Regions from separate parts of the Homo sapiens genome. Here region 2 is linked to region 1. Evidence: promoter capture Hi-C in human tissues and cell types (Jung and others, 2019). All regions are on one chromosome and are shown on one strand. Each heading gives the region's core, a stretch centred on a gene start or on the middle of the fragment in contact. The rest is flanking DNA. Distances are from core to core; before and after follow the strand shown.

What was found. The method cuts DNA at HindIII sites, captures the fragments that hold promoters and counts their contacts. A contact is called where the count stands out against the background at its distance.
Region 2: a fragment that was not itself captured here is called in contact with the fragment with the promoter of FOXD1 in region 1 in 2 of the 25 tissues and cell types used here (IMR-90 fibroblasts and mesenchymal stem cells).

What each region holds. Positions count from the first base shown.
Region 1 is chr5:73,446,575-73,450,193 of GRCh38, forward strand. It overlaps FOXD1 (forkhead box D1), which reads right to left and starts at 2,203. Exons shown (of 1, transcript NM_004472.3): 1 at 1-2,203. The coding sequence starts at 1,788. The coding sequence ends at 391. The HindIII fragment of the contact is 13,220 bases long and covers 1-3,619 here.
Region 2 is chr5:73,335,982-73,339,540 of GRCh38, forward strand. LINC02230 (long intergenic non-protein coding RNA 2230) reads left to right here and starts at 1,925. Exons shown (of 2, transcript NR_146627.1): 1 at 1,925-1,974; 2 at 2,302-2,784. The HindIII fragment of the contact is 3,119 bases long and covers 1-2,839 here.

The DNA of each region.
Region 1 (3,619 bases), core at 953-3,452:
ATTCTTTTGACCATTATTTTTTAACGCCTGGACCTGAGAATCTCTACACCTCAAAAAGGCTTAGTTGTTTTTCATCTGCCAAACGTCAAGGGAGCCTCTAGTGCCTGGACAGGGCGGACTCCCTTCCCCGGCACCCTCTTCCTCCCTACCCCAGGTCGGGGGTTGGGGGGCTGTAGCATAGGTCGGCTTTGCATAAATAGAGGGACCCGCAGAGCCAAAAGGCGCGCCCGGGCTGTTGACAGTTTTGTCCGAGAATTCGCAGCGGCGAAAATGGGCGCGCGAGGTCGAGAGGGGCCGCGCCTGGAGGAGCGAACAAAACACCGAACCACCAAGACGAGAAAAGGAGCCGGGATTCCTACCTTCTTCCTCGAGCGCGCTAACATAGCGTTATTAACAATTGGAAATCCTAGCAGTAAAGTTCTCGACACTGGACAGGGCAGTCCCTTGGTGCAGAGTCCCCAAGGCGGCGGACGAGGAGACTGAGGAGGCGGCGGCGGCCGCGGCGGCCACGAGGGATCGGGTGAGCGCGGCCGCCGGGCCCACGGCCGCCTGCGCCGCGCAGCCTCCTCCGCTGGATCCGGGAGCTGGCGGCGCCGCCACCGGCGAGGGCGAGGGCGAGGCCTGAGCGGCGGCGGCGGCCTGCGCGGCGGCGGCGGCAGCGGCGGCCGGGCCCAAGCTGCCCCCGATGATGCTCTCGATGGAGAAGGGCGAGCGCGCCAGCGCTGAGGCGCCCGGGCCGCCCGCCTTGGCCGCGGAGGCCGGCAGGGGGCCGGGTAGGGCGGCGCCGAGCGGGTGCGGCCGGTAGCCGAAGGCGGTCCGGGCCAGCTCGGCGGCCGCGCCGTGCGGTGGCGGGGGCGGCGGGGGCGAGTGCGGGTGGAAGGCGGCGGCGGCGGCGGCGGCCGCTGCGGCGGCGAAGAGGGCCGAGGGCGGCGCGTAAGGCGGCAGCTGCAGGCCGTAGCCGCAGCCGTAGGGGCCGTAGCCGTAGGCATGCGGGGGCGGCGGGGGCGCGGGCGGGAAGAGCGCGGCGGCGGCTGCCGGGTCGCCCGCGCCCCCTGCGGCTCCCGCGCCGCGCAGCAGCAGAGACTCGGCGGCCGCGGCGTTGGGTGGGAGCAGCGGCTGCCGCTTGAAGCGCTTCCTCCGGCGCAGGAAGCTGCCGTTGTCGAACATGTCGGCGGACTCCGGGTCCAGCGTCCAGTAGTTGCCCTTGCCCGGGTTGCCGGGCTCGCGGGGGATCTTGACGAAGCAGTCGTTGAGCGAGAGGTTGTGGCGGATGCTGTTCTGCCAGGCGGGGAACTTCTCCCGGTAGTAGGGGAAGCGGCCGCTGATGAACTCACAGATCTCGCTCAGCGTCAGCCGCTTCTTGGGGCTCTGCAGGATGGCCATAGTGATGAGCGCGATATACGAGTAGGGCGGCTTCACCAGCGGGTTCTTGGCGCCGCTACCCGCGCTCCCGCCGCCGCCCGCGCCGCCGCCGCCGCCGCCCCCACCGGCTCCTGCCCCCGCCGCCGGGGCCGGGCCCGGGGGCGCCGGGGAGCCCCCAGCAGGCGGGGCCAGCAGGATGTCATCGTCGTCCTCCTCCTCCTCCAGATCCTCCAGCTCGTCCTCCCCGGCGTACGAGCGCCGCCGCCGCCGCCGCTGCGCGGGGACAGCCAGCCGGGGCCCGCCACCGCCGCCCTCGTCGTCGTCCTCCTCTTCCTCGTCTTCTTCGTCCTCGCCCTCCCCCACCACGTCGATGTCTGTTTCCTCGGCGAGGCCAGAGGCATCGGACATCTCAGTGCTCAGGGTCATAGCTGTGGCGCGGCGGCGGCGGGGCGGCGCATGGGGGCGCCGGGCTCCGGGCTCCCTCTGCGCCCCAGCCCGGGTCCCGGGCGGCAGGCCCGGCCGGGGGGCGCCACGCTGGGGGCGCTGCGACTGCGGCTGCCGGAGCTGCGCCGGGGCTGCCGGGTGGCGGCGGAGTCTCGCGCGCCGACTTTATAACTCCTGCGCCGCCGCGGTAGCCGCGCGGATGCTGCGCTCCCTGGGCTCCGCTCGCGCCCGGCCCGGGCGGAGGACTTGACCTTCTCCTCTCGGAGCAGCTTTTGCCCCGTCAGCTGAGGAGGGGGTGGCGGGGCCCGGGCGGGCGAATCAGAACGCCAGGCGCCCAGGAACGTGCGGGACGGGTGAGAGTCTAAGAACAGAGCTCGGCGAGGCCAGGGCTGAGTCCAGGAGAGGGCGGACCTTCCTCGGCTTATAGCAGAAGGGGGCCTGTCACATGGTGTGCACGTCAGAGCGCTGCCGAGGGAAGGAAAGCAAGCCTAGGAAATCAGCCCTTCTCGGGAGAGAAAATTCACCCGTAGGAGGGAGGCAGCAGCTGAGAAGAGTGGGGAGGAGAGGGGACCTCACTATTTCTTGCCAAAGAGGCTGATGCCCGAATTACGCGGCTGTCTGCACCGAGGGCCGCTGCACGAGTTAGACTTCCCAGCCTCCTCAATTAGTCCTCCACCCTAACCTCAGAAGCACACCCGCGACACTCTGGTTTGACCCCTCGACAGCCTGTAGGAGCCTTCCAGCCGGGGGATAACCACCCCATCCTCTGAGGTGGCCCCTGGGGGACGCTCTGGGGTCGGTTGGGGGTGTCCAGCCCCTCCAGATCGGGCGAGCGGCCCCCCATTGGATCTGATGCGAAGCCCCCCAATTTAAGCACGATAATAATTGTTTATTGACCCTTTAACCCATTCTCTTCGGTTTTACTCCAAAGACGTTTGTTTTCCGCCATCTGTTAATAAAAACGCTGTGAGACTGGCGTTTTACTCACTTCTCTGCGATTGAATGCCCTAGAGACTTGACAGTTAAACTAAGCCACTCTAATGAGACGATCTGACAAATGTCATGGGAATAAAGAACGTAATAATTGAATTCGGAGAAGAAATTGAAATTTTTAGTGAAAACCCAAATACACGCACAAAAATTGCACCTAGAAACTACTAAAAAGTTCGACCAGCCTGGCCAACATGGTGAAACCCCGTCTCTACTAAAAATAGAAAAAAATTAGTAGGCGGCGCCTGTAATCCCAGCTACTCGGGAGGCCGAGGCAGGAGAATCGCTTGGACCCGGGATGCGGAGGTTGCAGTGAGCCGAGATCGTGCCACTGCACTCCAGCCTGGGCAACAAGAGCGAAACTCCGCCTCAAAAAAAAAAAAAAAAAACAGAAGTTCGTTCATAATGGGGCTATATAGTTCTCAGTAGGAGGAACATTCTAGTCAGCACTTTGCATAGTAATCTCAAAATACTTAAATTACATAACATATACATATTTCTACTGAGGCTTATTAATAGAAACTATAATGATAGATGACTTTAAGATAAACTTTTTAAAAATGTGTTTTTGGAAAATCCTTAAATATTGTTAATCCTTTCTGGTGAGATGAAAATTTTTTTTATGAGATTAAAGTTCCGCTCAATTCAGTTTTCTTTTCGGGTGACAAGATAGTGGAAATAATTAAGATATGATGCTCTTTTAAATATACCTATCTTTATCACCAACTCAAACGAGCTATTTTGGCTAGTGGAAAAATCCTAATAGTTTGTTGAATTCACATTCACTTATTTGTGCATTTCCTAAAATGCTTCTATTTCAAAG
Region 2 (3,559 bases), core at 30-2,529, 110 kb before region 1:
CTAAGTTCTCAGACCTCAATTTTCTTATCTGTGAAATGAGAATTCATTCATTAGTTCAGCATTTATTCAATGCTTATTATGCGGCAAACATTCCACTAGGTCCAAAGTAATACAATGATGAATAAAACAGGCTTCTTGTGAGTTCCAATTTAAATGAAATAATGCATGTAAAGCACCTACTACAGAGACAGGTACATGGGAGATGATTAATAATTTTTATTTCCTTTCTCGTTTTTTATCCTTTCACAGATGTAGAAGTAGCTAAATCCCAAACAACCATTTGTTCATCAAAAGATAAATACTGTCATCTCTACCTCCAGCACAAAGAAAGCATTAATCCATGGACTGACTCCTCTCAGGAGAATTTAGCGTCTCAAGTGTGAAGTCTTTTCACTGGAGCTTGAGATGAAGAAGAAGAGGGAATTCTAAAGGTTCCCCATCATCCACCTACCCTGACCATCCCCCCTATTCTGGACCTACCCTTGACTAACAGTCACATAGTGTAGGGAGTAGAGTACAGAAAGCAGAGGATGTACTGGTTCATTTTCCTGAGCCACTTACTAATCACCTGACAGAAGGCGAGTCATTTCAGCCAAAAATAATAACAGCCGTCATCTACTGAATCCCTTAAAAGTGCCCCCACTAGACTGAAAATTCCTTGAGATAAGGATGGACTTACTTATGCCCTCCCTTAAGTGACTACCAAAGTGCAAATAGTTGGCACTCAAAATACATTCATTGAATATAAAATTGAGATAATTCTTTTTTCCTTTATTTTTTGCCTGCTTCATTTTTCCTTTATATAAAACTGGGATCATTCTGCCTTGCCCATGCTGTAGGGTTTTTATGAAGATTAAATGAGTGCATTTCTATAAAAACTTTTTGAGGTTATAAAATATGCAAATGTAAGGAATCTGTCTGTTTTGGGTCTAGGAAAAAAGTAGAAAAAAGAAGAAATGAAAAAGATAAAAGAGAGCTGGGAGTGAGGTAGGCAGCTACATTTGAAAGCAATCTGAAGCCACTCAGAGGTGGAGGAAAGAGATTTAAATTGCTGCAAGAATTTGAAGGCCACCTCCCACCCAGCCCATCAGTCTTTCAGGGACTGTTCTTCAAGACTTACTCAAAGACATTCTGTCCTATGACCAACTTTAGGGTAACGGGGAAAAGAATTATGACAGTCACATCATATGATGAAATGCCAAGTAGCATTTCAAAGGTCACACTTCAGAAAGTCTGTTAATGATATGGAAAGTGATTAAGCACAAATTATGTAATTTTAAAAATAAAGCAGTTGAGATCTTAATTTTGTAAATATATATATATAATAAAAACATATAGAAGCAATGAGAAAAGACTGAGCAGAGATCTATCAATAAGTTACCAGAAATATATTATTATAAGTCATTTTAATTGTCTTTTAAATATATATGCATTTTTATACACTCTTCAATGAATAAGTGAATAATTGGAAATATAACTCTGTGTGTGTGTGTGTAAACATATTCTGTTCTTCACTGTTCTAGCCAGGAACTGATTTAGATCTGAATCAATTATTCCAAGAACCAAAATCACCAAGAACTGAATCACATCCAATCACCTTGAACCAAGTCCCAGTTGGAAAAAATGAGACCCATAATTCAGCTTTTTCGTTTTGTCAGCTGTAAGGCTAGATTAGGCCCTTTCCCCTTCAACCCTGGAGGTTAGATGCCTGGTTCCAGCAATGGCTCTTCTTCTAATAGCTCTGTGCTCTCAGACATATCACTGCCCCTCTCTGGGCCTCCCTCCTGTGCTGTAAAATGATGGAGCTGCAATCGGGGCCGCCTGGGCAATTGTTACGCCACTCATGACCTTCTCTTGGTTCTTTTCCTCTGTGTTCTGCTTGTTCCGTTTCACTGCCCCTTACAATTCTTCCCAAGGAAAAGAAGTGAAATGCAAATGAGTTTTTTGAGTTTTTGTTGACACCTCTAACTGCAGGTTGGAAAGCTTGGGGGCTTTGGCCCTGGTTGGGTAGGTTCTGCTCGCTGGGGAATCAGGCCTGAGCTGGCTCTGATCCCTCTCCCTTCTCCTAATCACTGCCCTGGCTGCAGAACTCTGGGCTGGCACCAGAATAGCAGCCAACATTTGGCTGACACAGGACATAATTTTTAATCATGGGAAGGCAGACATAAGTACAAAAGGCCTATTTTCTTCACGCAGGTTCAAGTATCTGCTTTTGGGTTATGTCTGTCTGTATTTGGCAGGGCTGGTCTTGGGGAAGTTCCGGGATTCGTGAACAAAAGGTCAGTCTCCTTCCTTTTCCAGGATGGAAGCGGCACAAATTGTTCTGATCAGGGAGCAATAACATGCAACGATCCCCAGGGCTCCCAGGCAGGCGGAGGGGGCACCCAGTCTCAGCAGCCCGCGATCTGCTTGGCCCCTGCGAGCTGCATGCCTCACATTTCCCCAGCTCCAGCCTCCTTTCAAAGGCCCTTTATTAAACCACCAACTATTTGCTGTCGAGACATTTAGGATGAAATCATTGTGTTAAACAAATAAACGCAGCTTCGTCCAGATTTCTGCTCTGGGAGCAGAGTAAGAAAATAATTTCTGTCTGCTCGCCACAAAAGCGGCTGGAAAGGTCCAAAGAAAAATATTATTTTTACTCCATTGTGTGAAATATTGTCCTGGAGGATCTGACGGGCTGAGCGTTTGAAGAGTTTGTGCTGGCAGGTTTCAAGGGTCCCCTGGGTCGGCCCCCTGGGATTGTTTTCTGCATTAATAAACTGAGCATGATGTGTGTTAAAAGGAACATTCTGTTTGCTTTGTAAATAAGGGATGTCAAACAAGAAGCAGAAGCCTTACAGACACTAGGTGATGTGTTCTCAGAGCGGGGAGAGGGAGGAGGGTGGGAGAGGCACCCTGGAAAAATGGGCATCACTGGGGCTCCCTGAACTGAGCGGAGGCCTTGTTGAGAAAACAAATCAGTCTGTTTGAGTCCAAACCAGGCCACTTCCTCACTGATCCTGGTGGGAAAGCTGAACACTTTGCCCTGAACCAGCAGGATACGGGCTTGGGAAGGAAAGTTCTCAAGTGTCTGTCAGCTGTGTGGTGGAGGAGAGATGATGGCGCCTGGCAGAGGCCCTCCCCCTACCCGCACCCCCCTCCCCTCCCTTTTGGAGAAGGTTCTTGGCTTGCCGGGGTCTCCCAGAGCTGGAGGGCAGGAGGGGGCAGAGGTTAAAGCCATATCTTTGGGAATGATGATGTGGCTCTCGCCCCCTCTATCCCTCTCATACTCCTTCCTCAGATGTCACTGCAGCCCCAAGCGGGTTCCCCTGTCAAATTCCTGACCGGTCCTTGGGGACGCTGACATCGTGGGAGACACATCACCCTGGCCCTGTGATCCTTGCCTCTGCGGGAAACCTGCAGGAGCCAGGGCAGGATGTGTACCGTCTCTGGCTCAAGTATTTGCTATTTTCACAGGTGCCTCCCCTGGCCCCGCAGCCCTCTCCGTTGTCCGCTGTCCGCTCCAATGTTATTGAAGGCTCCCCAGACCTCCCAGGCATTCTCATTTCCACCCGCT